Regions from separate parts of the Homo sapiens genome. Here all the other regions are linked to region 1. The links are contacts of gene promoters, found by promoter capture Hi-C in blood cells and fetal thymus (Javierre and others, 2016). All regions are on one chromosome and are shown on one strand. Each heading gives the region's core, a stretch centred on a gene start or on the middle of the fragment in contact. The rest is flanking DNA. Distances are from core to core; before and after follow the strand shown. Region 1 holds the start of CARMIL1 (capping protein regulator and myosin 1 linker 1). Region 2 overlaps CARMIL1 (capping protein regulator and myosin 1 linker 1). Region 3 overlaps CARMIL1 (capping protein regulator and myosin 1 linker 1). Region 4 overlaps CARMIL1 (capping protein regulator and myosin 1 linker 1). Region 5 overlaps CARMIL1 (capping protein regulator and myosin 1 linker 1).

What was found. The method cuts DNA at HindIII sites, captures the fragments that hold promoters and counts their contacts. A CHiCAGO score of 5 or more calls a contact.
Region 2: a contact is called between a fragment that was not itself captured here and the fragment with the promoter of CARMIL1 in region 1, in 16 of 17 cell types (M2 macrophages, megakaryocytes, M0 macrophages and 13 more). The highest score is 12.3, in M2 macrophages.
Region 3: a contact is called between a fragment that was not itself captured here and the fragment with the promoter of CARMIL1 in region 1, in 15 of 17 cell types (naive CD4 T cells, megakaryocytes, total CD8 T cells and 12 more). The highest score is 15.8, in naive CD4 T cells.
Region 4: a contact is called between a fragment that was not itself captured here and the fragment with the promoter of CARMIL1 in region 1, in 10 of 17 cell types (naive CD4 T cells, non-activated CD4 T cells, naive CD8 T cells and 7 more). The highest score is 8.4, in naive CD4 T cells.
Region 5: a fragment that was not itself captured here is called in contact with the fragment with the promoter of CARMIL1 in region 1 in 7 of 17 cell types (M2 macrophages, total CD8 T cells, M0 macrophages and 4 more); the score reaches 8.6 in M2 macrophages.

The regions. Positions count from the first base shown.
Region 1 is chr6:25,277,991-25,280,869 of GRCh38, reverse strand. CARMIL1 (capping protein regulator and myosin 1 linker 1) reads right to left here and starts at 1,496. Exons shown (of 37, transcript NM_017640.6): 1 at 1,035-1,496. The coding sequence starts at 1,074. RefSeq lists a silencer at 1,299-1,768. The HindIII fragment of the contact is 9,381 bases long and covers 1-2,879 here.
Region 2 is chr6:25,508,856-25,511,734 of GRCh38, reverse strand. CARMIL1 (capping protein regulator and myosin 1 linker 1) reads right to left here. Exons shown (of 37, transcript NM_017640.6): 18 at 1,998-2,079; 19 at 1,129-1,228; 20 at 973-1,027. Among named protein-coding and RNA genes, the nearest start is that of SCGN, 140 kb to the left of the region's middle. The HindIII fragment of the contact is 588 bases long and covers 1,074-1,661 here.
Region 3 is chr6:25,477,536-25,480,414 of GRCh38, reverse strand. The region is part of intron 11 of CARMIL1 (capping protein regulator and myosin 1 linker 1); the gene reads right to left. Among named protein-coding and RNA genes, the nearest start is that of SCGN, 170 kb to the left of the region's middle. The HindIII fragment of the contact is 4,769 bases long and covers 1-2,879 here.
Region 4 is chr6:25,461,602-25,464,480 of GRCh38, reverse strand. The region is part of intron 8 of CARMIL1 (capping protein regulator and myosin 1 linker 1); the gene reads right to left. Among named protein-coding and RNA genes, the nearest start is that of CARMIL1, 180 kb to the right of the region's middle. RefSeq lists a silencer at 833-1,033 and an enhancer at 1,501-2,037. The HindIII fragment of the contact is 8,941 bases long and covers 1-2,879 here.
Region 5 is chr6:25,444,961-25,447,839 of GRCh38, reverse strand. All of the region lies in intron 5 of CARMIL1 (capping protein regulator and myosin 1 linker 1), which reads right to left. It also overlaps a transcript of LOC124901281 not described here. Among named protein-coding and RNA genes, the nearest start is that of CARMIL1, 170 kb to the right of the region's middle. The HindIII fragment of the contact is 535 bases long and covers 1,089-1,623 here.

The DNA.
Region 1 (2,879 bases), core at 247-2,746:
TCAGCGCCGATTAAACATCATCTTTGTGAGCTGTAGGCTGTGTAGTGTGCCAAGAATGGTACAGGAGGGAATATAGGTCACTAGGGCTCAAAACACATCTGTACACAGACGCACATACCTTGTTACAGTATAACATGCTACACACATATACATGCTTAAACGCTAGGTTTTCAGAACACTCTCCCATCCTATTTCAGCTCTGCCATTTTAACCCTCCAGATAATTAAGTTAAACCCCAAGACTTAACCAGCCCCGCCCCCACCACCACCAAAAAAAAAAAAACCTCAAGGTACTCAAACAATGGGTCACCTTGCACAGCGTAACACACACGGGTTCCCTAAGAGATCCCCTATAGGGAGAATCGGTAGGTTAATCATTATTAAAATAAGGCTTTTATCATTAACCCTCTATTTCCTGGCCTGAGTCTGCGTCAGCCCTGTAACCCTTTCGCTCCCAGCTGGCTACACCAAGCCACACCTTGCCAAGCCCAGTCATTTTACCAGACTAGCGCCCACTCCCCCAAGTCTGCGTGTCAGAAGATCACCTCCCGCGGGGCATTTTCAGGAAAGCGCCTGACACGTGCCGGAGACGACCTACTGTGCGCTCGCCACCTGTCCTTCCAATAGGCTTTCCCGGACTTTCCCGAGTTTGGGGCAGTGGGCTGGGAGCTGTAAAGGGCTCCCCTCGCTTGCAGAACTCCCAAGTCTAAGATGGCCCGCCCCCTTCTTTCGCCAACCTGGATCCCCGCTTCCGGGCAAGAGGAGGTGCCCAGGGCTCACAGTCGAGACCCTCCTCCCACCCACCTCCCGAGGACTCCCGATTCCTCCCCGAAGCCTTCCCTCTCTGCACTTGGCTCTACAGGCGGTCGGATGGGAACAAACTTCCCGGCACCCCCAGTGACCCTGCCCAACACCACTCTGCCCTAAGGGGCGCCAAGACTTCTCGAGACCTGCGGGAAAGCAGAGGTGGGAAGGGAGAGAGAGGTGAGGAGTACGCAGAGGAAGGTGGAAAACCAACAACCGCGTGAATCTTACCTATCAACTCCCTGGGAACGTCAGAGCTCTCCTCGGTCATGGTTGCCCTGTAGGTGTGGGGGTTATTGCAGGTCCAACTCTGATTTATGGCCCCCTGCCCTTCCCCGAACTCCTCAATTTTTTTAGAGAGGCAGATGCAGCTTGCAAATGGAAGTGGGCAAGAAAAGGGGGGGCGGAGACAGAATTTTGCCGCGCGCCCCCCGCCCCACCAAAAAAAAAAAAAAGAGTTGCAAATGCGAGGCGGATTTGCTGCTGCTGCTACATGACGCCTCCTCGCAGTTCCCGGCGGCTGAATAAGGAGCGGACCGGATTACAAGCGGGCGCGGGGCGCGGGGCGGCTGTGGCGCCTGCTCCTCCTCCCGGCTCGCTGGTCCCCGGCGGGGCTTGGGCCGGCGTAGCTCCCGCCCAGCCTCCGCGCCGCACCTACAGCCCTAGGTGAAAGCGGAAGGCGTGGGAGAGGGCGGGGAGAGCGGCGCGGGGCGGGGGGAGTAGGTTTTCCTCGCGCTCCTGCCGGGCTCCGGCTGGGCGGGGGCAGCTCCGGCCCTCCTCCTTCTCCTCCTTCTCCTTCTCCTCTTCCTCCTGCGTTTCCTCCTCACCTCGCGAGAGCCGGCCTCCGCACCGGTGCGAGGCCGGCCTCCGGTGCCCGAGCGCTGGGTCCCCGGCGTAGGTCGCACCCCCAGGAGAGACGCTGTGCGGTGCTGCGGTGGCGGCGGCGGGCACCGCGCCCCTCCTCGCAGCCTCCCTCCCAAACCGCAAAAGCCCTGCGTCTGGAGAGGGGGCGAGCGGGCTCGCGAGAGAGCCCGGGAGCCATCTGCTGGCTGCGAGGGAGGAGAGCCGGGTGAGCCGGGCTTTCCATTTCCTTGTCCCCACTCCGGGCGGGCCAGGGGACCCAGAAGACGGGAGACGGCAGATTCTGCAGACCCGTCTACACGGAAGCTGGTTCTTTTTGGGACCCTCTTACGCACTTTTTCTTTTTCAACCCTCCCGGTGACATGTCACTTCATCATCGCTATTCTTCATTTCTGATGAGCTAGACGAAACCTGTGAACACTAATCATACCGTGAGAAGACACTTGTGTGTGTGCGTTCAGCTGGTGCTCTGCAGCCGCAGTTCGCTATCTCAGACATTCCCGTTGAGAGCGCCTTGGAAAATGCCTTTCACTCGGAAAAGTCTCTTTTATCCTCGGGGCATATTCAGGAAGCTGAGCTTTAATCACTGGAGCCTATGTAAGCCTGCGGATAGGTCTGATCCTACCTGGGCCCAAACTCCCTATGACTTCCCTGAGCTCCATCCCCAGAGGTTCAACTTCAGGGCCAAGAATACTTTGTGCCTCAATCGCTGCTTTTTAGCCTAGGGCTGGGAATGTCCCAGACTGTCTAATCAGGTTCTGCTTTTAAAGGACAGAAAAGGAGGAAAGGAAAGGGAATCCATGCACTTGGCAATCTAATTTTAAACACTGCTGTTGACCTTGGACCCCTTAGAATCATCTTCAGCCCCACAGCCAGGCCTTACCACTAAGGATTTGCCAACCTGGCCCCTTCCCACCCTCCTTAACCTCTCCCACTCCCTTCTCTATTACAACCAGACTCACTGTTTGCTTCCTCCTTCCTCTTAAGGTTATCTGATTCTTATCTATGTTTTCAAACCCATCCCAATGGTCTACCTTCTTTGTGAATATTTTCCAGGGATTTTCAGATTACTGTGATCCCTAAGCCTCTACAATATGTATTGCCTGAAACACTTTTCTAAACCCAACCATATGGTGTCGTGTTTCATTGCTTGTGTATTTGTCTGGTTTTACTATCTAACTCTTGCATTGTCCCCTGAGTTTGGATTTTTTCTGC
Region 2 (2,879 bases), core at 118-2,617, 230 kb before region 1:
CTATCCTTCCTGGCCTCTTAGCTTTCACAGAAAAGTCAGCTTAAAGCTGTGATAGAATTTGCTCTTCCCTGGTATGAATTCAGGAGGGAAAATGATACTTTTTCCAAATGTGACATACTCCACATGATTAATATAAAAATCATCCTCATGACCTACAAAAGTAGCTATTACAAAACATGAGTAATGTGACTCTTCATAGTAGGAATACAAATTCATCTGAGTTTTAGGAACTGGAAAAGCTGAGTCTGGTGACCAAATAGGACTTTGAGAGGAAACGGACAAAATCTTAGAGAGCATCAGTAAAATATAAGGTGTAACACACCAGCTCTAAATCAAATGGATTCATGGTAGACTGCTTCTTATTTTGTCCATAAAATAACTTTTCTTTCTCCTAATCCATTTTCAAGGACAGCAAAATAAGATACTATTTGAAATTAAACTTCTTTACCCTGAACTAAATTTTGGTCAGGAGCAACGAAAGGGGATTAAAAATACAGAGTGCTACTAGACTTCAAGAAGCAATTAAAGATGGAAGAAAACTTCCTTGGTCCCCTATAATTCCACATAATTATTAGATGAAATTCAAATTAGCAATATGATATTTCTCAGCATTATATAAGGTCATAAAGTCAACTAGAATGTAAAAATTCATGCCTGAAGATTAGTTTATTAGCTAAAGTTAGGGAGTAGTAAGGCTAATTAAAAGATAGGCTCAGGAGTCAATTTATACTTCTTTTTATCTATTAGTGACAATCTTCCTTTAATTGACAGTGAGTTGAATAAAGTAAAAAAAGTTTTTAAATACATTCTACAACTCTACTAAAGTGTATTTATTCCATTTTTAAAAAGTAATGGAAAATGTACACGTTGATAAAACTATCTGAAAGTATTTCAGCATTAATCCAGTAGAAATAATCAGTAAGAATGGCAACAAACAGAAGATTTTAGTAAAAAGTTTAACATAATACTCACTGATTCTTCATCTTGAATCATCTGTACTAAGTTGTCCAATACAGGTGTCAGATTTCTAAAGAGATTTTAGAGATGTGGACAGTGGAATCAAATCAAAAGCTTTCAGGAGGCTGGTTATTTTCATCATTGTCATATAAAAAAATTCAAAACTCTTACTTGGATTTCATATTATTAAAATTTTTGCCTAACGCCAGGTGTTGTATTGATCTGTTTTTACTGAGCCACACTATTAAGGTAGATAGGTCAGATTCTAAACCTGGAAAGAATCAGAGTAAGTAGAACATCAAAACACATGTGTATAAATTAATTTTCAGCTGGAACACAATTAAGCAAAGGTGACATATAGTTGGATGACTTCCTTTACCTTCCTGAGGGGCCTGGGATTCTAATCTTTTATTTTCAAAGGCACTCTTTGCTCTCTTTTCATGTCCTATTATTTCACAGGGATAAACTCATTCTCTACAAAGACTTATCTAAATCTCTTATACAATCAGTGGCTAAACCAAGTCAGCAGGAAATGGGAATGAATAATGGCAGAAAGTTTCATCTCTCCCCACCACTCTGTGAGAGAAGATTCCAACAAACTGTTCACTGTGAGGTAAGTGGAGTTAAAGTTGTCTATGCAAATTTCACAGGTTCATACTAACATGATACTACAATCAGCAGAAATGAAGCTAATGAAATAAGCTTTTGAATAAATAAACAAGAGTACAATTTTATTATCAGCAAGAATGCAAAAAGTTGGTCTCAGACCCTTTTCAATGTACTGGTGATATTTTTATAACTGAGTTGTTTTACTGCATAGACTTTGCATAGTTGGCCACAGAGTCAACTTAGTAAGACTCTGGCACAGATCTATTCTACAAATATACCCCATTGTTAAATTTAAAAGCCCTATTAGTCAAAAAATAAAAAACAATTTTTTTATTAAGCTATTGTTTGGATTTGGGTAGAAGATTATTTTCCCCTTATTAACTTGCTTCAAAAAATATTTCAGTTTCATTTCTTTTCAATATCTGACTTACCATTGTCAGAGATGTCTAAGCTGGTGATGTTGTGTATTTCAGCAATGCAACCTTCTAATACTTGAGCACCTCCTGATCTCAGCTAGAGAAACACAAACCAAACACAAAGTAAAGTCTTCACTCTACTGGAGATGTAATCAAAAAATTAAAAATAGGAGAGACAGTCAGTCTTAAAATAAACTTAGTACCAAAGAAAAAGTAAAAGCTTATCAACTCCAAAGAAGCTATTATCAGTGGGTAAAGAGCCTATCACTAGCCATTGCTGCTGTTTCCTATGCCATGTGATCCCACATTAAATCCTAAAAACATTAGAAAAAAACAAAAGAGAAACAAGATGACCACCACCCACGCCACTATAGTAGCAAAGCAGTGCATTATCAACCCAGAAGAATTTCTTCATTTCTGACTTTTGGAAATTTAATAAATTCATTTTATACATGAGAAAGTTACTGTTTTATTTGACTGTTACCGATTCCAAGGTGTAAACTCTCCACCCAACCAAAGGAGACAATGAAGACTTACTTTGATTGTCAAACATTTTAGGAAGGACCCATCCCTACCTGTTCTAAGACATGAGTGTGAGTTCTCACTCATAAGGCAGATATTAGCTAACTAAAGATGACTGCAAAATGATTTGTACAAATGCTTCGAGCCATGGATGGAAAAATGTTAAATTAATATAAAATATTATTATCATGATTGTTTTAGAGCAAAACTAAGTGCAAATGATTATTCTCACCTCATTTGCAATTTTATTTAAAAGAGAAAGACAACCTGAAAAACCCAATACAGTACTTTTCATCTTTTTCTATGAAACCAAAGCATACTTTATAGCAGTCATAATATCTCTGTGTTTTTCATTCAGCAAATATTTGTTGAGTT
Region 3 (2,879 bases), core at 108-2,607, 200 kb before region 1:
ATGGAATATTTCATTAATTAAGAAGATACAATTACTCTAAATCTATGCTCTGATTAACATCATCTGAAAATATATAAAGTAAATCTGACAGTAACAAAAGGAAAATACACATATTACATAAACACACACGCATATATAATAATGGAAGTTTTCTAACACACTTCTATTAGTAGCTAATAAATGAACAGAAAAAGTCAGTAAAGATATAGAAAATATCAAGATCATAATGAAAAAAGATATAACTGATATATTTAAAATGCTGTACCCAGTAACTACAGAATACATTTCTTCAAAGTCCACACTAAATATTTTCCAAAAGGAATCATATACTGAGCCATAAAGAAAGTCTCAACAAATAACAGAATGTTCCTTAGTACTGTGAATTCATACACAGAATATTTGTATGTTCTCTGTTACCACTACTGCAGTTAAAATAGGAATTATAACAATAAGATAATTAGAAAATCCCCAAATAATTATAACTTAAGCAATATATTTCTAAATAACAAAAGAGTCAAAAATCACAGTGGGAATTTTAAAAATATTTTGAGTTAAATCTAAAAACTATGGTATTAAAATCTTTGGGATCTAACTAGAGCCATGCCTAGAGAGAAATCAATAGACCTAAATACATATTTTAAGAAAGATAAAAAACTGGAAAATAATTATCTAATTATCCAGCTCAAAAAACAGCAAATTAATCCTCACCCACCTCTGTAAACAGAAGGAAGGAAAAAAAATAAGAAAAAGGGAAGAATCCAGTTAAATAGATAGCAGCCATAAAAATAAGTAAATTTAACAAAGTTGGTTCTTTAAAAATACTAACAAAATTAATAAACTCCAACAAGACTGGTAAAATAAATAAATGAGAAACAGAGATCAAATTATCAAAATCAAATGAAAAGAGAATGTAAAGATCTTACAGGCGTTGAATTATAACTCGAGGGTATAAACACATCTGTAAGTCAAAAAACTATCATTTTAATAGAAAGGAACAAATCCCTTATGAAAAACATGACAGACCAAAACTAATTTAAGAAGAAGTAAATAATCTCAATAGTTCTCTATCTATTCAAGGAAACAAATCTATTATTAAAAAATCTCTCCACAAAGAGAAGCAAAAGAAGCCACACACAAAGGAGTACATAGGCAAAGAACAGGCAAAGCTCATCCATCATGAGAGAAGTCAGAATAGTAGTTATCTTTTCCAAGTGGTAGAGGACAGGGCTGGTAATCACTGGGGCAAACCACAAGGTAAGTCTGGAGAACGGTGGGAACATTCTGTCTCTTGATCTTGGTAGTGGTTTCTGGGAGAAACAAAAGGCCTCTTCTCTGTTAGAAAGCATACACATTGGAACATTGTGGATGTCAGAGCACAGGTGAGTAAAAATTTTTACATTTCTACCAATTCTATAACTTTCCTGGAGAGTTCAGAAACACTAAGGAAAGTAAGTGAAAAAGCAAAATACAATGAAGTATTTCCATTTCAAAAATAAGGCTGAGAGGAAAAGACTTAGAACCAAGAGTATAAGAATATAGGCATACTGGAAAAAATTGAGTCAATACTTCCAACTTTTAAACGCCCTAAATCTAAATCTATGCCCTTTTTTTTTTTCCCCAAGATGGAGTCCCACTCTGTCACCCAGGCTGGAGTGCAGAGGCGCGATCTCGGCTCACTGCAACCTCCTCCTCCCAGGTTCAAGGGAATCTCCTGCCTCAGCCTCCCGAGTAGCTGAGACTACAGGCACGTGCCACCACGCTCGGCTAATTTTTTGTATTTTTAGTAAAGACGGGGTTTCACTGTGTTAGCCAGGATGGTCTTGATCTCCTGACCTTGTGATCTGCCCGCCTCGGCCTCCCAAAGTGCTAGGATTATAGGCGTGAGCCACCGTGCCCAGCCAATCTATGCCATTTTTAAAATATTGCTTTACCTGTTTAACCATAAAAATATCAATTATTTCATTTAATCCTTAGAACATTCTTATTTGGTAGGTACTATCATTGTATTTTTAATATAAGGAAGCTGAGGTACAGAGAAGGTAGGTAACTTGTCCAAGAACACTTAGCTAGAAAGCTGTGAAGCCAGGAATTAAACCCATGTGTTTCGACTCTGGGACTCACTGATATACACTGAGACATGAAAGACCTAAAACACCAAGAAAAGTAAGCAGCAATCCTAGAATCTATAAGTCTCTTGTCTTATTTAGAAGATCAAATCAGAGCCACCACCAAATAGCTGGGAAAAAATATGAGCGTACTTCAGGTCAACAAAAAACACTAGAGCTAGGATTCTAAATGGTGTCTAAATGAAATAATCGAATTTTGAATAGAGTGAGTGGAGAAGCCTGGGCAACAGAGTGAGACCACATCACTACAAAAAAAAATTTAAAAATTAGCCAGGTGTGGTAGTGCACACCTGCAATCCCAGCTACTTGGGAGACTGAGTGGGGAGGATGGCTTGAGCCCAGGAAATGGAGGTTGCAGTGAGCCATTATTACACCACCATACTCCAGCCTGGGCAACAGAGTGAGACCTTGTCTCAAAAAAAAAAAAAAAAAAAAAGTGATGAGAAGAAGTGAGGACAGACATTTCTGAAAAGGCTGAAATCATAAAAACTAAGGTAATTGGGACAGATAACTAGGAAAAACAGAACACAGAATTTGCAATGCTTAGAGAAGTAAAGCATAAATGTACACACATATATTAGTATTAGAAAACTAAAACTAAAGTTTCCCCTGAACAATGTACTCTGACATTTTCTGTTCTATTCCACTGCTTTAAAAAAAAAAAATTGCTTGTCATGAACTATTAAATTGATTTCACAGCCAGCTAATGGGTCTTCACCCACAGTCCAAAAAAACACTGTGTTAGATGAAGAC
Region 4 (2,879 bases), core at 254-2,753, 180 kb before region 1:
GTGCTTGGCACTCTACATATACCAGTTCATTTAAATCTCAAAACAACCCCAGGAGTCACTGTTGTTTACATCTTACAGATGAAGGAATAGATGTTCAGAAAATAAACTGAAACTAGGCCAAAGGGACAGAACTACAGTCAGAACCCTGGCTCTGAAGCACCACATGTGTGCAGTTTCAATAGACATGCTTTAAAAAGATGAGATGAGTGCCCACAGATAGTAGAAAAAAAAAATCCAGAGAAATAGGCAGGCTCAGTCATGTGTTTCCACATGCCAGGTTTTCTACTGACAAGCCTCTTTACTAACTTTGCCTAAGTTTAAAATTTTTTTTAAGTTTTAGATTAAAAAGGAGAACAACTGGCCGGGCGCAGTGGCTCACGCCTGTAATCCCAGCATTTTGGGAGGCCGAGACGGGCGGATCACGAGGTCAGGAGATCGAGACCATCCTGGCTAAAACGGTGAAACCCCGTCTCTACTAAAAATACAAAAAATTAGCCGGGCGTAGTGGCGGGCGCCTGTAGTCCCAGCTACTCGGGAGGCTGAGGCAGGAGAATGGCGTGAACCCGGGAGGCAGAGCTTGCAGTGAGCCGAGATCAGGCCACTGCACTCCAGCCTGGGCGACAGAGCGAGACTCCGTCTCAAAAAAAAAAAAAAAAAAAAAGGAGAACAACTCTTTCAATAGTTATTTTATGGTCTTCCCTCTCTTCGTCCCCCTCCATTGACCACATGCTCTGTGCTCAGAACAAGTTCCTGTATCTCTTCCTATTGCCTAATTACAGGTTGTAGCTTCTCTAAGGGTGAATTCCATCTTATTACAGAGTCCCCAAAGCCCACGCTGAGCGTTCTCTTGTATATTTCAACATTCAGAATGATGGCAAAGCAGTCTCATCTTTTTTGTGGATTTAATGTCAAGGAGTGACCACACTTCAGAACCACTTTTTGTGTATTCTGTTCTGTCCCATGATCTGATTTGAAGTATAACTGGCTTTTGTCATAGATGAAGTCATTTTCAGGAACTGAAGGCACATCACTCTACGGAATCATGAATGCAGTGAGTAAAACAGCATCATCTCTACATACCACAATACTCAACACCAAAAATGCTTATGGTTCAATATTAAATTTTTAAGGTATACAGCATTCTAAAGTGAACATCTGTGTGATATAATATATAATTGGGATTAATAAAATCTACATATAAAAAAAGATATAAATGCTAACAAATATAGACTTTTCTTAAAAAAAGAAAGAAATATAGCCAAATGTCATAAGGATACCTTGTTAGCATTCAAGGTGATATTAATGTCTTCTAACAAAATTATTATGTTTTTAAATTGTTCTATGATTCATATTCATAATCTGTTTTACAAGATTAAATCTTCCATGGATGATATAAACAAACTTTTGCTCTAGAAAAAGTTATTCATGAGGAGGATGGAGACTAAGCATATTGGCATGGTTTGCCTACCATGTTTCTCTAAATTGTGTTAATGCCTAGGCTTCTTATGTTAAAAAAACAATTAGAAGGAGACAATGACATATCATATTCAGCAGATATTTATTTAGTCCTTAGTACTAGGCAGGGTTATTAGGCTCTGAGAGCTAAGAGATGAAAAAGAAGTGTAGCTCTTATTCCTCTATCGCACTTCACTGGTAAAGAAAAACCCCTTCTCAACTATCTGTAATACAACGAAAGACGAGAGACTTGCTGAATAGGGAAAATGTTAAAAAACAAACAAACAAAAAGCCCTAAGAGCACAGCAGGACAGCAAGTAATTCGGCCTGAAGTAAATGGGGAATGGCTCACCGGCTTAAAAGATCAGAAGGAAACCAACCAGCCAGGGAGAAAGAGTATTTTAAGAAATTAGGAATAGCACGTACAACAGCATGGGGAACCTGAGCATATCCAGCAATTCCATTCATTCTTATGTTCAACAAATGCCGCCATCATGCATGAATCACTGGGCCTGATGCAAAAATGAACATAGAAAATGGTCCCTGCCCTGATGGCCTGGCACAGCCTAGCAGGAGACTCAGGAAGGAAAAGCAGCTATAACACAGTGAAACAAGCCCTAGTGAGGTAGGGGGAATACAAAATACTATGTGTGCATATAAAAGGGGTGCTAATCAAGACAACCAAGTTGAGAAAGAGGATGTTACTGAGCCCTCAGAGATGAGGGAGTGGGATGAGACACATATTATAAGCAGAAGAAACAGGCAACAGAGTAAGGTATGGCTTAGTCTAAGAGTTTTTAGATCTTCGAAAAGCAAAATACAAAAATAAAAAAATCGATAAACTGGACTTTATTCAAAATTAAAAACTTTTGCTCTACAAAAGATGTCAAGAGAAGAAAAAGATAAGCCACATGCTGACAGAAAATATTTACAAATCCCATTTCTGAAAAAGGAATTGTATCCAAAATGCATAAAGAACTATCAAAAATAAAAAACAATCACCCCATTTTTTTAAATGAGCAAAAGATCTAAACAGACACTTCACTAAATAAGATATATGTATAGCAAATAAGCACATGAAAGGATGCTCACAATTAGTAGCATTAGAAAAATGCATTAGGGAAAAACCAAAAAGAGATGCACGGTTTAAAAAAGAGAAAAAATAAATTTAAAAAAACCTGACAATACCAATTGCTAATAAGGACCCAGAGCAACTGGAACTCTCAAATGGAGCCAATGAGGATGCAAAATGATACACTCAATGGGGAAAACAGTTTGACAGCATCTTATTAGGTTTAACAGATACTTGACATCTGATCCAGCAATCCCATTTCTAGGAAATTCCCCAAGAAAAATCAAAATTTATGTTCACATAAAAATGTAGATAATTATTTATTTTTAAGAGCTATGTTCATAATTACCAG
Region 5 (2,879 bases), core at 107-2,606, 170 kb before region 1:
GGATGGGGGTGGCAGAAGAAGAGAAAGCCAAGCCACCCCCAGTCTGGAGGCCTTGAAAAAGTCCAAATACTGGTACTTCCAGGGGAGAGGAAGTGAAAGGCTGTAGTCAGAGGGGGAGGGCTGTTTTTTCACCATGGAATAAGCTGTTCCAGGAGATGACAAGGTCATGTGGCCACAAAAGCAAGTGGAAGTAGGGTAGAGGTGAAGAGGTCATGAGCTGTGAGGAAGGGTGTCAGGGTGTCAGTCACCCAGTACCATGACAGGACGTGGGTGAGAGGTGGTGAAATAAATATATTAACTTGTATTGAATATAGTTTCATCTTTAATGATTTCAAGGCACTCTGCTACATACAATGCTCTCAGTCATTCTTATGAATTTCCATCACCTTGCAGAGACTGGAAGAAAATGTTCCCAGTTATTTACATTTTCTGATTGAATGGATGTATTCCAGATAAAATATGCTAGGGCCTGGGAGGTTGCCTGGTTGGGTTGTTCTACTCCTAGAGAAAACCTCAAATACATATCAAATCATTTAAATACATTCTGTTGGCATGGAAAATATTCCTCCTACTTCTTTGTAAGTTTTATGACTAAGACATAATCAGGTTCCGACATACCTCATTTTATTGTATTATACTCACAGGTATTGCATTTTTTGCCAATTGAAGCTTTGTGGCAACCTTGCATTAAGCAAATCTATCAGTGCCATTTTTCCAACAGCATGTGCTCACTTCCTGTCTCTGTGCCACATTCTGGTAATTCTCACAATATCTCAAACTTCCTCATTATTATAATATCTGTTTTGGTGACGTGATCAGTGATCTTTGATGTTACTATTGTAACTATTTTGGGGGACCATGAATCACACCCATATAAGACAGCAAACTTAGCTACTTAAAAGTGTGTGTGATCTCACTGCTCCACTGACAACCATTCCTCTCTGTCTCTCCCTTTCACCAAGCCCATTACTTGAGACACAACAATATTGAAATTAGGCCAATTAATAACCCTGCAATGGCCTCTAAGTGTTCAAGTAAAAGGAATAGTCGCACATCTCTCATTTTAAATCAAAAGCTAGAAACAAGCTTAGTGAGAAAGGCACATGGAAAGCCAAGACAGGCTAAAAATTAGGCCTTTTGCAACAAAAAAATTAGCAAAATTGCAAATGCAAAGGAAAAGTTATTGAAGGAAGTTAAAAGCGCTACTTCCATGAACATGTGAATGATGAGAAAGTGAAACAACTTTATCCCTGAGATGCAGAAAGTTTTAGTGGTCTGGAATGAAACATTCCCTATGCCAAAGCCTAATCCAGAACAAGGCTTTAACTCTCTTCAATTCTATCAAGGCTGAGAGAGGGGAGGAAGCTGAAGTTGGAAGCTACCAAACGTTGGTTCATGAGGTTTAAGGAAAGTTGTCTCCATAACGTAAAAGTACAAGATGAAGGAGCAAGTGCTGATGAAGAAGCTGAAGCAAGTTATCCAGAAGATATAGTTAAGATCATTGATGAAGATGGCTACACTAAACAACTGATTTTCAATGTAGATGAAAGAGCCTCCTACTGGAAGAAGATGTCATCTAGCACTTTCTTAGCTAGGGAGAAGTCAATGGCAGGCTTCAAAGCTTCAAAGGACAGGCTGCCTCTCTTGTTAGTGGCTAATGCAGCTGGTGACTCTAAGTTGAGGCCAATCAGTGCTGATGTTCCATTCCAAAAACCCAAGGCCCTTAAGAATGATGCTAAATCTCCCTGCTTGCACTCCACAATAGAACAAGAAAGCCTGGGTGATAGCAGATCTATTTACAGAATGGTTTACTGAATATTTTAAGCCCACTGTTGAGACCTACTGCTCAGAAAAAGAGATTCCTGTCAAAATGTTACTGCTCATTAACAATGCACCTGGCCACACAAGAGTTCTGATGGAGAAGTACAAAAAAATCCATGTTGTTTTCATGCCTACTAATTCAATATCCATTCTGCAGCCCATGGATCCAGGAATAGGTTTGACTTTCAAGTCTTATTAAGAAATATATTTTGTGTCTGTAATCCCAGCCGAGGCGTGTGGATCACGAGGTCAGGAGATCGAGACCATCCCGGCTAACATGGTGAAACCCCATCTCTACTAAAAATACAAAAAAAAAATTAGCCGGACCTGGTGGCGGGCACCTGTAGTCCCAGTTACTCGGAAGGCTGAGACAGGAGAATGGCATGAACCTGGGAGGCGGAGCTTGCAGTGAGCCGAGATCACGCCACTGCACTCCAGCCTGGGTAACTGAGCAAGACAACAACTCAAAAAAAAAAAAAAAAGAAATATATTTTGTAAGGCAATATAAGCAGCCATAGATAGTGATTCCTCTGATGCATCTGGGCAAAGTAAATTGAAAACCTTCAGAAAAAAATCACCATCATAGATGCCATTGAGAACATTCATGACTCACGGGAAGAGGTCAAAATATCAACATCAACAGGAGTTCCAAAAAAGTTGATTCCAAACCTCATGGATGACCTTGAAGGGTATAAGAGTTTAGTGGAGGAAGTAACTGCAGATATGGTGAAAACAGCAATAGAATTAGAATTAAAAGTGGAGCCTGAAAATGTGAATGAATTGTTGTAATCCACGAAAAAACTTTTAACAAATGAGAAGTTGCTTCTTATGGATGAGCAAAGAAAGAAGTTTCTTGAGATGGAATCTACTTCTGATAAAGATACTGTGAACATGCTGGTCATCAGAGAAATGCAAGGCAAAACCACAATGAGATACCATCTCACGCCAGTTAGAATGGCAATCATTAAAAAGTCAGGGAACAACAGATGCTGGAGAGGATGTGGAGAAATAGGAACACTTTTACACTGTTGGTGGGAGTGTAAAGTAGTTCAACCATT